Regions from separate parts of the Homo sapiens genome. Here region 1 is linked to region 2. The links are contacts of gene promoters, found by promoter capture Hi-C in human tissues and cell types (Jung and others, 2019). All regions are on one chromosome and are shown on one strand. Each heading gives the region's core, a stretch centred on a gene start or on the middle of the fragment in contact. The rest is flanking DNA. Distances are from core to core; before and after follow the strand shown.

What was found. The method cuts DNA at HindIII sites, captures the fragments that hold promoters and counts their contacts. A contact is called where the count stands out against the background at its distance.
Region 1: a contact is called between a fragment that was not itself captured here and the fragment with the promoter of ZG16 in region 2, in 1 of the 25 tissues and cell types used here (mesenchymal stem cells).

Annotation. Positions count from the first base shown.
Region 1 is chr16:29,957,937-29,965,407 of GRCh38, reverse strand. TMEM219 (transmembrane protein 219) reads right to left here and starts at 3,329. Exons shown (of 6, transcript NM_001083613.2): 1 at 3,276-3,329; 2 at 2,100-2,301; 3 at 1,819-2,008. The coding sequence starts at 2,264. RefSeq lists a silencer at 3,047-3,496 and an enhancer at 3,847-3,956. The HindIII fragment of the contact is 7,005 bases long and covers 1-4,997 here.
Region 2 is chr16:29,773,078-29,779,705 of GRCh38, reverse strand. ZG16 (zymogen granule protein 16) reads right to left here and starts at 1,450. Exons shown (of 4, transcript NM_152338.4): 1 at 1,400-1,450; 2 at 385-446; 3 at 69-201. The coding sequence starts at 439. RefSeq lists an enhancer at 3,644-3,938. The HindIII fragment of the contact is 7,779 bases long and covers 263-6,628 here.

The DNA.
Region 1 (7,471 bases), core at 246-2,745, 190 kb before region 2:
TATGGTACATGAATCATATCTCAATAAAACTATTATATATCTATTTAAAAGTAAAAAGAATGGGAAAGAATTGTCCCAAGTCTGCATATATCGGACACATTCCTTATTTTTGTTAACATACATGTACATCTGGACATGCAGAGACCCACTCCCCCGACACATATATACTCACAGGAGAATCTTAGAATGATAGTGTTGTAAAGGACCTCAGAAGTCAGAAAATACCACCCTCTTCCATCCCTCTTTATCTTAGCATATTTTAGATAAGGCCAAATGTCACACAGGGATTATTGGCATCCACTGACATTTTCACATTCTCCCTATCGCTTGTCATTTTCCCAGAAGACTATAGCTCTTTGGAAATTGATGGTGTCTAATTTTTTTCTGCATCTTTTGTGGCATACAGAACTATGCTAAGGAAAAAGGGGCCTCTAGGAGGAGGTGGCTAAAGGATGAGAAAACATTAGGTCAAACCTAGCCCATTTCATCCTACCTCCAAGGATAGACTCAAAGAACATCAGAACTGGCAGAGGAAGAAAGCATTCATAGAAAACCTACCCTGTCGGCAGCATGTTCACTGAAAGCCCTAATCACAGAAGTGACTAAAGTCCAGGGATGTGCCCAAGGTCATCATTGGTGAGGTCAGAGGCAGGGCCCAGCCCTGAGTGTTCTGATACCCGACCCCACAGTCCTCTGTGATCTCACCTTACTTTTTTTTTTTTGGCGCAGGGTGGTGGGGGGGGCGCGGGGCGGGACAGAGTCTCTGTTGCCCAGGCTAGAGTGCAGTGGTGTGATCTCTGCTTATTGCAACCTCCGCCTCCCAGGTTCAAGCGATTCTCCTGCCTCAGCCTCCCAAGTAGCTGGGACTACAGGCACCTGCCACCACACCTGGCTACTTTTTGTATTTTTGTTTGTTTGTTTGTTTGAGACGGAGTCTTGCTCTGTCTCCCAGGCTGGAGTACAGTGGCACGATCTTGGCTCACTGCAACCTCCACCTCCCGGGTTCAAGCAATTCTCCTGCCTCAGCCTCCCAAGTAGCTGGAACTACAGGCTTGCACCACCAAGCCTGGCTAATTTTTTTTTTTGAGACCGAGTTTTGCTCTGTTGCCCAGGATGGAGTGCAGTGGTACGATCTCGGCTCACTGCAACCTCCGCCTCCTGGCTTCAAGTGATTCTCCTGCCTCAGCCTCCTGAGTAGCTGGGATTACAGGCACGTGCAACCATGCCCGGCTAATTTTTGTATTTTTAGTAGAGATGGGGTTTCACCATGTTGGTCAGGCTGGACTCAAACTCCTGACCTCATGATCTGCCCGCCTCGGCCTCCCAAACTGCTGGGATTACCGCTGTGGGCCACCGCAACCAGACCACCAGGTTAATTTTTGTATTTCTAGTAGAGACGGGGTTTCACCATGTTGGCCAGGCTGGTCTCGAACTCCTAACCTCGTGATCTGCCCTTCTCGGACTCCCAAAGTGCTGGGATTACAGGCATGAGCCACCGCACCTGATTTTTTTTTTTTTTTTTTTTGAGACAGAGTCTTGCTCTGTCACCCAGGCTGGAGTGCAATGGTGCGATCTCGGTTCACTGCAACCTCCATCTCCTGGGTTCAAGCGATTCTCCTTCCTCAGCCTCCCGAGTAGTTGGGATTAGAGGCGCCTGCCACCATGCCTGGCTAATTTTTGTATTTTTAGTAGAGATGGTGTTTCATCATGTTGGCCAGGCTGGTCTTGAACTCCTGACCTCAAATGATCCACCTACCTTAGCCTCCCAAAGTGTTGGGATTACAGGCGTGAGCCACCACACCCAGCCTCTGATCTCACCTTTCAATCCCATCTGACTTCCCAGGACTGTGGCCTGGAATGTCCGGGTCTTGTTCCTGTCTGGACCGTCTCCGAAGTTCAAGGTGGTCAGCAAGCCCACGACGTGAGACCCTCGCCACTTCCCTGTGACTGTCCCATTCCTGGGACACAGGGTCAGCTGGCCAAAAGATCTCAAAAAAGAGACCCAGTCCTGTGAGCAAAAGAAGACGGGTGAGATGAGATTAGCAGCAAAAGCCTGTCTAGGTTGGAAGGAAGAGCGGGTACGGGGGTGGGGAACTTACCTGGGGGATGTCAGGGCTGCGCAGGCCAGTCCTGTGGGTGAGGAGGAAGCTGCCAAGGCCCAGGCCAGAGAGGCCAAGGAGCAGCAGGATCAAAGTGGCACAGACCAGAGGTGGGTGGTGGGCCAGACACAGGTGCAGGTTGTGCCCTGCCTGGCAGTTGCCCATGGGGAGCAGAGGGGGCTGAGCCTCCGGGGAGAGCCTGCTGGAAGACAGGGAGGGAGAATGGGACAAGAGCACCGCTTTTACGCAAAGAGAAAAGAAAGCTCAGAGAAGACAAAGGACTTCCCAAGGCCACACAGTAAGTGGCAGAGCCAGAACAAGAATCCAAGGTTCCCGACTCCAAAAGTTCAACTCCCTGCACTGCTGGATAAATATTTGCTGCATTTCATTTCTGAAGTAATCTAAGTGGAGGCAGAGCAGTGTACTCCGTGCTGGAAGAAGGAAACTGAAAGGGAGACTTCTCAGCTGGAGAAACAGGAAGCACTGTTCTGGGGCGAGGATTTGGCTGAGGAATAGTTCCAGCCAGAGCCCAGACAAGGGAAGACTCTGGAGAAGAACTCCACTGTGCAGCTAAACGGCTAGATCTGAATCCCTTTCTGTTATTCACTGACTCTGTGAGCTTAAGAATCCATGAAATGGGAGTTCTGAGAACACCAAGTAATAAGGATTAAACGTGGCGGATGAAGCAGTCTGCGTGGTATTTGGCCATGCAGGAATTCAACAAATGTCCACTTCCTTTCTCTTTCTCGTACAGATCCTCAAAACCGGGTAAGGCGAGGCAAAAAATACTGTGAGGGAAACTGAGGCTCGCGGACTTTAACACAGGAGGGGTAGGGCCAAGATCTGAACCCCGCCTCCTGCTTCCAAGTGGGGTGCTCCTTCCCACGCAAGGTGCGACGGCCTGATGGAAAAGAACTTCTGGAAGGCGAAGAGATAAACAGGGGTCGGGGGAAAAGAAGGGAGCCACGGAAATGTAGGTGTCACAAATGCTCAGCCCTGCCCCGCCTCCCGTCCGGCTGGAAGGGGGTTAAAGGGAGGGGAGGGCAGAGTCTGAGGGTCCGCCGCCGCTGGTGCACCTGAGCACCCCCTCCCCGGAAAGCCCCCGCCCCGAACGATTGCAACGCCCTCGTCCCCTCCCGGTCTCGCGCGTCGGATCCGCCAGCCGCTCGCTCTTACCCCTCGGGGCCGGGCGGAGGCCGGCGCCCCCCGCGACGTCACGAGCGGGGCCGCGAGGGGGCGGGGTCCGTGCTCTGCGCTTCCGTCCCCGACCCTCCTCCTCGCGCGGCCCCGCCCCGCGGCCGGGTCCGCATGCGCAGTGGCCACGCGGGCGCCAGCCTCGCAGCTCACCGCCAGGGTGGGGGCGTACCAAAGGGACACCCAAGGAAGGAGCCACCAGAAAGGAAAACCTCCGTGGGAGGGGTGGAAACGGGAGCGAGGCCAGGGAGCAAGTGCGAGAAACGTCGCAGAACCCGTAGGCTCCCTCCAGAGAGACTGGCGAGAACTGCCCCAGAAGCTTGTCGCGGGCATTTTTGGGCTGTGCGTCCCCTACCCGCGCCAATAGCACAGACCAGCCGCGCCCGGGTTCCCGGTGAGGACTCGGCATCCGCTCAGAGTTGCAGGGCTGCCACTTGAGGACTCTGTCCACTGGGGCTGGGAGTGGTGTTTTGGACTCCGCTCTTCTGTGCACCCCGATCTGCACCTTTCTCGTGGACCCTGACTTTTAGTGACTCCTTAATGTATAGGATGCTGGAGCTGAAGAGTTGCTCAGTAGAGAGCATCTCAGTTCACTTCTGCCCAAGTTTTGGAGGTGAGAACATCTGACTGGAGGTAGCATGACACATGGAGCCAGGAACTTTGGGTTCAAATCCTGACTGTCCGTACCCTCGCATAAGCCATAGCCGCGCTCTCAGGGGACTAAGCTTACCCCTCTACTAAAGAGGATCATCCTATCTATCTCACCGGTTGGATCAGAAGCTTAAAGGGTAAAATGTGGGAAAACATGGGCCCAGTGCCCACTAAGCACACAGGACAGATGCTACTTGAAACGGAATCTATTTAATTCGACTGTGGCTTCCTTAAGGCAGAGGCCATGTCGTTTGTATCAACAGCCACAAAAGTTTGTGGCACAAAACCTTCGCATATACAAATGATTTTTTTTTTTTTTGAGACGGGGTCTCAGTCTGTCGCCAGGCTGGAGTGTAGTGGCGCGATCTCGACTCACTGCAACCTCCGCCTCCCGGATTCAAGCTATTCTTCTGCCTCAGCCTTCCGAGTAGCTGGGACTACAGGCGCACGCCACCACGCCCAGCTAATTTTTGTATTTTTAGTAGAGACGAGGTTTCACCATGTTGGCCGGGATGGTCTTGATCTCTTGACTTCGTGGTCTGCCCGCATCGGCCCCCCAAAGTGCTGGGATTACAAGCGTGAACCACCACACCCGGCCGATTTTTTTTTTTTTTTTTTTTTTTTTTTGACAGAGCCTTGCTCTGTCATCGCCCAGGCTGGAGTTCAGTGGCACAATCAAAGCTCGCTGCAGTCTGGACGTCTTGGGCTCAAGAGATCCTCCCGCCTTAGCCTCCTGGGTAGTTGAGACAGCCGGTAGTCACACGCCACCCACCATGCCCAGCTAACTTTTGCATTGTGTGTAGAGACGGGGTTTTGCCATTTGCCATGTTGCCCAGGCATGTCTCGAACTCCTGACCTCAAGCAGTCCTCTCGCCTCGGCCTCCCAAAGTGCTGGGATTACAGGCGTGAGCCACTGTGCCCTGACTAGTCAAATGATTTTTGACAAGGGTGCTGTGGGCGTTCAGTAGAGAAAAGAGTCTTTTCTGTGCATCGAAGGACACAACAGGCTGGGCACGGTGGCTCAAGCCTGTAATCCTAGCACTTTGGGAGGCCGAGGCGGGTGGATCACCTGAGGTCAGGAGTTTGAGACCAGCCTGGCCAACATGGTGAAACCCCATCTCTACTAAAAGTACAAAATTAGCCAGGCATGGTGCCGGGCGCCTATAATCCCAGCTACTCCGGAGGCTAAGGCTGGAGAATCGCTTGAACCTGGGGAGTGGAGGTTGCAGTGAGCTGAGATTGCACCACTTCACTCCAGCCTGGGCAAAAGATCAAAACTCTGCCCCACAAAAAACAAAAACAAAAAAAGGAAAGGACAGTGAAAAGGCAACCAACAGAATGAGAGGAAATATCAAATCATATATCTTATAAGGGGTTAATATCTATAATATATAAAGAACTCCTACAACTCAACAACAGCCCAATCTCAGCTCACCTCAACCTCTGCCTCTCAGGCTCAAGGGATTCTCCTGCCTCAGCCTCCCGAGTAACTGAGATTACAGGCACACGCCACTATCACCTGACTAATTTTTGTACTTATTAGTAGAGACAGGGTTTCACCATATTGGCCAGGCTGATCTCAAACTCCTGACCTCAAATGATCCACCCGCCTTGGCCTCCCAAAGTACTAGGATTATAGGCGTGAGCCACCGCGCCCGGCCTAATTTTTTGTATTTTTAGTAGAGATGGGGTTTCATCATGTTGGCCAGGCTGGTCTCAAATTCCTGACCTCAGGTGATCCACCCGCCTCAGACTCACGAAGTGCTGGGATTACAGGTGTGAACCACCGCACCAGCCAAGTATACCAACATTTTGACTTAATCCACTCAACAAGCCCTCAAAGTGGATGTTATTCTGGAAAGCTGGCCCTTAGTTTAAGTCAGGGGTCCCCAACCCCTGGGCCGTGGGGCCAGTACCAGTCCGTGACGTGTTAGGAACTGAGCCGCACAGCAGGAAGTGAATGGCTGGTGAGAGAAGCTTCATCTGTATTTACAGCTACTCCCCATTGCCTGCATTACCGCCTCAGCTCTGCTTCCTGTCAGATCAGTAGCGGCATTAGATTATCATAGGAGCATGAATCCTATTGTGAACTGCGCATGCGAGGGATCTAGGTTGCTCCTTATGAGAATCTAATGCCTGATGATCTCTCACTGTCTCCCATCAACATCAGATGGGACTATCTAGTTGCAGGAAAACAAACTCAGGGATCCCACTGATTCTACTTTATGATGAGTTGTATAATTATTTTATTATACCTTATAATGTAATAATAATAGAAATAAAGTGCAAAATAAATGTAATGTGCTTGAATCATCCCGAAACCATTCCTCCCCTGGTGGAAAAATTGTCTTCCATGAAACTGGTCCCCAGTGCCAAAAAGGTTGGGGACTGCTGGTTTAATTTAACCAAGGTCATACATATATTAGGTGGCAGAAGTTGGGTTATGATTTAAGCCTGACCACAGCATGGCATGTGGGAATGAGAAAGCCCTGTTGAGGCTCGTTCATTCAATAAGCATCTGTTGGCTGCCAGGCTGTGTATTCTGTGGGCTGGGAATATAGTGGTGGACAAAGTATTCATGATCTCTGGCCTCCTGGAACTACAATCTGGCATGTTCAGGCTGGGCGCAGTGGCTCATGCCTGTAACCCCAGCACTTTGGGAGGCCGAGGCGGGAGGATCACCTGAGGTTGGGAGTTCAAGACTAGTCTGACCAACATGGAGAAACCCCATCTCTACTAAAAATACAAAATTATTCGGGCGTGGTGGCATATGCCTGTAATCTCAGCTACTTGGGAGGCTGAGGCAGGAGAATCGCTTGAACCCAGGAGGCGGAGGTTGCAGTGAGCCGAGATCACGCCATTGCACTCCAGCCTGGACAACAAGAGCGAAACTCCATCTCAAAAAAAAAAAAAAAAGCAACAGGAAAAGTGCATGTTTGCCTAAACCTTTTTTCTTCTTCTTCTTTTTTTTTTTTGGAGGCAGAGTTTCACTCTGGTTACCCAGGCTGGAGTGCAGTGGTGCGATCTCAGCTCACGGCAACCTCTGCCTCCTGAGTTCAAACAATTGTCCTGCCTCAGCCTCCCTAGTAGCTGGGACTACAGGCGTGCGTCACCAGGCCCAGCTAATTTTTTTGTATTTTTAGTAGAGACAGGGTTTTGCCATGTCATCCAGGCTGGTCTCGAACTCCTGACCTCAAGTGATCCATCCACCTTAAGCTTCCCAAAGTGCTGGGATTACAGGTGTGAGCCAGTGAGCCCCACCTTTTTTTTGTTTCTTTTTTTTTTTGAGACAGGGTCTTGGTCTGTCACCCAGGCTGGTGGGCAGTGGCGCAATCTTGGCTCAGTGCAACCTCCCTCCTCACCATGCTCAAGCAATCCTCCCACTTCATCCGCCCAAGTAGCTGGGACCACAAGTGTGCACCACCATGCCAAGCTATTTTTTTTTCTCTCTTTTTGTATTTTTAGTAGAGACGGGGTCTCACCATGTTGTGCAGTCTGGTCTCGAACTCCTGAGCTCAAGCCGTCTA
Region 2 (6,628 bases), core at 201-2,700:
TGCCTCCCAAAGCATTGTAATGACAGATGTGAGCCACCGCGCCCAGCCAGGAATTCAAAGAATCTTACCCTACGATGTAGTATGTGTTGACTCGGACCCGGAGGGCGGTGATGGGGCCGTCCAACTGGTTGCCAGAATGAGAGAATCGCTTTCCACCACCACCTCCATACTCTCCACTATAGGAGGAAGACCTGGCCTGAACTGGAGGGGCAAGCAGGAGTTGGAGGGAGAAATCTTCCAGGAGTTCAGTTTCTCTGCATCACCCCTGTTCCTCCGACAACTCAGCTCCCCACCCCAAGCCAACCTCCAAAAGCCTTGGCCAACAGCAGTGCCCAAGGCTGCCTTCCCAAGTCCCCAATACCAGGCTCCTGGTATCTCACTTACTGGCATTGCCAGAGGCTGAGGCACAGAGAAGGGCTAGGAGAGCGACTGTCAACATTCTGGGGCTGGAGTGGGAAGAAAAGAGCAAATGAAGATTCACCTTCTTCCTTGTTGACTTGATTGACCCAGGCACTCCTGACCTGCAGCTCAGACCAAGCCTTCTTCGTCCTTCAACTTAGACCTAGCAGACCCAGTCTTGAGCTTAGAAAGGACTGTCCATAGCCTGTAGTCCTGTTCCTCTCTGATGCTACCTTCAATGTCCCTGACCCCTCCAGCTCTCCCTGGTCTGGCTGTAGCCAAGCCCTCCTCTTTTTCTCTCAGGCCTGAAGATGAACTCTAACTATCTGGATTAAGCCTTATTCCATCCTGGCACAAAGCAGAAAAGTTTTCTGAAGTCAGCCAAGCCCAGGTACATTTGGGTTGGTATGGCCATAGCCAGGAAACGAGTTTTCTAAGGAGGGAGTAGAGGACCTCTCCCAAGCAAAGAGATGGCTGAGTTTACTGAGCCCAGAGGCTGAGCAAAGAAAGCCTCATCATCTGTGGTGAATTGGCCTGGATTATGGGGCACCTGGAGCATGGTTTAAATCCCTGGCATCCACCTGGTCTCAAGGAAAGAAGCATTTTAGAGTTGCCTCTATGTTACCTGGGGAGCAAAGTTGGTGACAGAAGGAACTGTGCCAGCACCAGTATCCAAGCAGTGCTGGTGGAACTAGGACAGACAGAGAAGTTGCAGAAGGAGTCGGGACCAGCTCAAGATATTAGACCCCAGGTGCCTGGTCTATGTGTCACTATTCTTTTCTCCACTAACACACATCTGGCCATTTCTATTCTCCTGAACATCCCAGGTGTCCCCAGTCCTTCAGCAGAGACCTAGACAGCTTTGCACCTAAGATTACTGCAGACCCAGAAGCGCCAATTAACTCAAGTCTTTCCTGCCATTCCTTCCAGGCATCCTCTTCGCCAGCTCAGATTTGAATTCCCCCCCAACTCAGATTCAGGCATCTCTGTCACCCCTCACCTGACAGTTTCAGATGCAAAGCAGCCCCCTGGAAACTTCCAGATGTTTTATACCAGGTCCAAGCCCTCCTCCTGCCCTTTATTGTGTGAACCTCACCTCCTGAGCAAACATGAGCAACCTCTTCGGATCAGGTGTCAGGCAGGGTCTGGAACACCTTATCCTGCCTCTACCCCATAGTCAACAGATACTACAGCATAGGGTAAGATTCTCTGAGTTCCTGGCTGGGCATGGTGACTCACACCTGTCATTACAATGCTTTGGGAGGCAGAGGCAGATCGCTTGAGGCCAGGAGTTCTAGCTCAGCCTGGGCAAGAGTGTGAGACCCCATCTCTACCAAAACAAAAAACAAAAACAAAAATTAGCCGGGCATGGTGACGAGCACCTGTAGCCTCAACTAATCAGGAGGGAGGTAGGGAAGATCGCCTGAGCCCAGGACGTTGAGGCTGCAGTGAGACAAGATCACGCCACTGCACTCCAGCCTGGGTGACAGGTGGCAAGCTGGAGTCCACTCTGGGCCAAGTGCCGTATACCAGGAGAAACATAGTAAACTTAAGGTCACCACCAGCAGCTCTAGGTGGGCAAAGTAGCTTATCACCTCTAGGCTTAGTAGGTGCTCTCACCTGAAATCTGCCATCTGTCAGGACAAACAGAGCCCTTCCCAGGCATTCGAAATGTGGATTCTCCCAGAAGGGAATATATTCCCAAAATCTTATACTTACGAGTGCTGACTATTTGCCAGACATTTTTTTCTTTCCCTTTTCTAATATTATGAAAAATCCAAACACATATAAAAGTTTAAAGAATTGTACAGTGGCTGGGCCCAGTGGCTCACACCCATAATCCAACACTTTGGGAAGCTGAGGCAGCTGGATCACCTGAGGTCAGGAGTTTGAGACCAGCTTGGCCAACATGGCGAAACCCCATCTGTACTAAAAATACAAAAAGTAGCTGGGTGTGATGGCAGGTGCCTGTGATCCCAGCTAGTCAGGAGACTGAGGCAGGAGAATCACTTGAACCTGAGGGGCAGAGGTTGCAGTGAGCTGAGATCACTCCACTGCACTCTAGCCTGGGCGACAGAGTGAGACTCCATCTCAAAAAAAAAAAAAAAAAAAACAAAAGAATCGTATAGCAAGACTGGGTGCAGTGGCTCATGCCTGTAATCCCGGCACTTTGAGAGGTCAAAGCAGGAGGACTGCTTAAGCTCAGGAGTTCAGGACCAACATGGGCAACATAGGGAGATCTCGTCTCTACAAAAAATAAAACAATTAGCCAGGCATGGTGGTGCACACCTGTGATCCCAGCTAGTCAGGAGGCTGAGGCAAGAGGATCACTTGAGCTGAGGAGGTCAAAGTTGCAGTGAGCCATGATCGAAACATCAAGTCTCAAAAAAAGGAAAAAAAAAAAAAGAATTGTATAGTGGACACTTATATAACCACTGTATAGATTCTACTATGGTTAATATTTTGCTGTAATTGCTTTTTTTTCTTTCTTCTTTTTGGAGACACAGTCTTGCTCTATCCCTCAGGCTGGAGGGCAGTGGCGCGATCTCGGCTCACTATAATCTCTGCTTCCCAGGTTCAAGCGATTCTCCTGCCTCAGCCTCCCGAGTAGCTGGGATTACAGGCATGCGCCACCACGCCCAGCTAATTTTTGTAATTTTAGTAGAGACAGGGTTTCGCCATGTTTGCCAGGATGGTCTCGATCTCTTGACCTCGTGATCCGCCCACCTCGGCCTCCCAAAGTGCTGGGATTACAGGCGTGAGCCACTGTGCCTGGCCTGCATTTTTTTTTCTATCCACTCATCTATTTATCCCCAATATGCCAAACACTTCCCAAACCATTTCTCTCTGAGAAGGATGACTGGGGCTGCAGGTGCACAGTGAACACGTGCCTATTGCCCCACAGGAAACAGAGTCAGTCCAATGGGAAGTGCAAAGCTAAGGATCCGAAGGTCTACAGGTGTTCCTCTGGGGGTAATTCTGGGCTTTGGGCCCTCAAGTCTCCTGGGTACCATGGCTGAATCTTCCTGGGGCTGTAGGCCGCCCAGGGCCATTGCTTCTTTCTTAGGTCTGTAACACCCCCAGGGGTGATGTCATAGTTTTTTTTTTCTCTGTATGCCCTTCATTTTCAGGACTGATTCCTCTCTGCCTAAAATCCCTAAGACTGACTCCAGGGACCTAGTGCCTGACCCCTCCTGGACTGGCCCTCTGACCTCTCTGAATCAGGAGGTCCAAGAAGAGGGAAGGATGGAGGACCAGAAGGGGCTGGAATAAGTGCTCTCAATTATAAATGACTAGTCAGGCATTCAGAGCACCCCACCCCTCACAGGTTTACCATCTGGGGCCAATGACTCATCCCAGATAGCAAAGGCAGTCCCGCCTGAGGATCTGGAAATGGGGGGAATCCAGGGTGGTGAGTTCTGGGAGTGAAACAGAACAGCAGCCAAAGATTCCACGTTCACTCCTCCCTTCCCCTCTCTTTTTCTCCAAGGTCAGTGTCAGCACATCCTGCTACTATAACTTTCACCTCATTCCAGCCATTTTGTTTTGTGTCTCTCTCCCTCTCTCTTTCCTGGTGACTCTCCTTCCCTTTATGTCTTCATCTTTCCCTGCTCTGGGGAGGATTTTTCTTTCTTTCTTTCTTTCTTTTTTTTTAGATGGAGTCTTGCTCTGTTGCCAGGCTGGAGTGCAGTGGCGCGATCTCGACTCACTTCAACCTCTGCCTCCAGGGTTCAAGCAATTCCCCTGCCTCAGCCTCCTGAGTAGCTGGGACTACAGGTGCGCACCACCACACCCAGATAATTTTTTCTATTTTACTAGAGATGGGGTTTCACCATGTTGGCCAGGATGGTCTCAATCTCCTGACCTTGTGATCCACCTTCCTCAGCCCCCCAAAGTGCTAGGATTATAGGCGTGAGCCACCACACCCGGCCTTTTTTTCTTTTTTCTTTTTTTTTTTGAGATAGATTCTCGCTCTGTCACCCAGGCTGGAGTGCAGTGGCCTGATCTCAGCTTACTGCAACCTCTGCCTCCAGGGTTCAAGCGATTCTCCTGCTTCAGCCTCCGGAGTAGCTAGAATTACAGGCACCCACCACCATGCCTGGCTAATTTTTGTATTTTTAGTAAAGATGGGGTTTCACCATGTTGGCCAGGCTGGTCTTGAAATGACCTCAGGTGATCCACCCACCTTGGCCTCCCAAAGTGCGGGAATTACAGGCGTGAGCCACCATGCCTGGCCTAAGGGGTTTTTTTTTATATTCCTTCCCTCCATGCCTTTTTCCTTCTGCCTCTTCTTTCCTTGTCCCTACATCTCTCCCAAGCTCTCTCTCTAGCTCTTTCTCCTCTCTAATCCTTGCTTGTCTTCTTCTGTTTAGGGACAGACCACCCCTAGTCTGTGACCAAACACAGGAAGTCAAAGATGGCAGCTCAGAGAGGTCGAGATGGGCACCTTGGAAGAACGCCCTCATGTTCCCAGGCATGACACATCCAGGACCCTCAGGACAGAGGCACCCACATTTGCCACAGCTCCACTCCGTTGCACCCACCCTGCCTGTATGGAGATCCAGCATCTCCTCCATTGCCGAAGACTGCTTCTTGTTCCACTATAGCAAGTCCTCAGTCTCCAGAGTGCAAGAGATGCTTTCCTATGATGGGAGGGGTCTCAAGGCCCATTTTCTGTCCATCCCAGAAACAAGGAAAGCTGCCCTATCGCTAATGCTGGCACCTCTAGGGTGCACTCTCATGTGGGGACTGAGGCAGAAGGAAGAACGTGAAGGCAGTGAGACACCAGGCCCCCATCTCTGCTTCTGCCTTATCAGATCCTGTTTGAGCCACTTTACATTTAACCCACGTGCCAGCTGTGGGCCTACCTGCCCCTTTTAAACTCTAGATGAAGTTGCCTTAAACCTCATCCCGTTCCCGGGCCTGCACGCGTGAATGTCCAAAGCCCTTCCAGAGCTTTCTGCTACTAAACAGAAAGCAACTCAACACATGTTTTTTTGTTTGTTTTTGTTTTTTGTTTGCTTGTTTTTTTTTTTTTTTTCAAGATGGGGTCTTGCTCTGCTGCCCTTTCTTGGCTCACTGCAACTTCCACCTCCCGGGTTCAGGCGATTCTCCTGCCTCAGCCTCCCAAGTAGCTGGGATTACAGACATCCACCACCACGCCTTGCTAATTTTTGTATTTTTAGTAGAGACAGGGTTTCACCATGTTGGCCAGACTTGTTTCTAACTCTGACCTCTTGATCCACCCTCAGCCTCCCAAAGTGCTAGGATTACAGGCGTGAGCCACTGTGCCCGGCTCAACACGTTTATCAAGCATCTCTACATTGGAGGTACCATTCTAGACGCTGAAGAGACAGCAATGAAGAAAAGAGTCAACAGCCGACCTCAAGGAGCTGTAGGGCCAAGGGAAAGCTTCCTTTCTGCTCTCTAGCCCTATAAAGGCTCCCCAAAAAGGAACTGACAATTGGCAAATTAATAGGAGAAAAATGTGTACAAAATTTATGTCACATGTACAAGCATAAGGAAACCACAGGAGAACGATGACCTAATAACCCAACGTGGTCCAGATGCTTATGTAGCTGCCTTCTTCACAGGGGAGGGGAAATGGGGGTGCAGCAATGTTGAGAGGTAGTATGTGATTTTGTGGGGAAATGAATGGGGCCAGGTGCAGTGGCTCACACACCTGTAATCCCAGCACTTTGGGAGCCCGAGGCGGATGGATCACTTGAGGTCAGGAGTTTGAGATCAGCCTGACCAACATGGTGAAACCCCGTCTCTACTAAAAAATACAAAAATCAGCCAGGTGTTGTGGCACATGCATGTAATCCCAGCTACTTGGGAGGCTGAGGCAGGAGAATCGCTTGAACCAGGGAAGTGGAGGTTGCAGTGAGCCGAGATTGCACCATTGCACTCCAGCCTGGGCAACAAAAGCAGAACTCCGTTTCAAAAAAATAGCCGGGCGCAGTGGCTCACGCCTGTAATCCCAGCACTTTGGGAGGCCGAGGCGGGCGGATCATGAGGTCAGGAGATCAAGGCCATCCTGGCTAATGGTGAAACCCCATCTCTACTAAAAACACACACAAAAAAATTAGCTGGGCACGGTAGCGGGTGCCTGTAATCCCAGCTACTCGGGAGGCTGAGGCAGAAGAATCGCTTGAACCCGGGAGGCAGAGGCTGCAGTGAGCAGAGATCACACCATTGCAGTCCAGCCTGGGCCACAGAGCGAGAC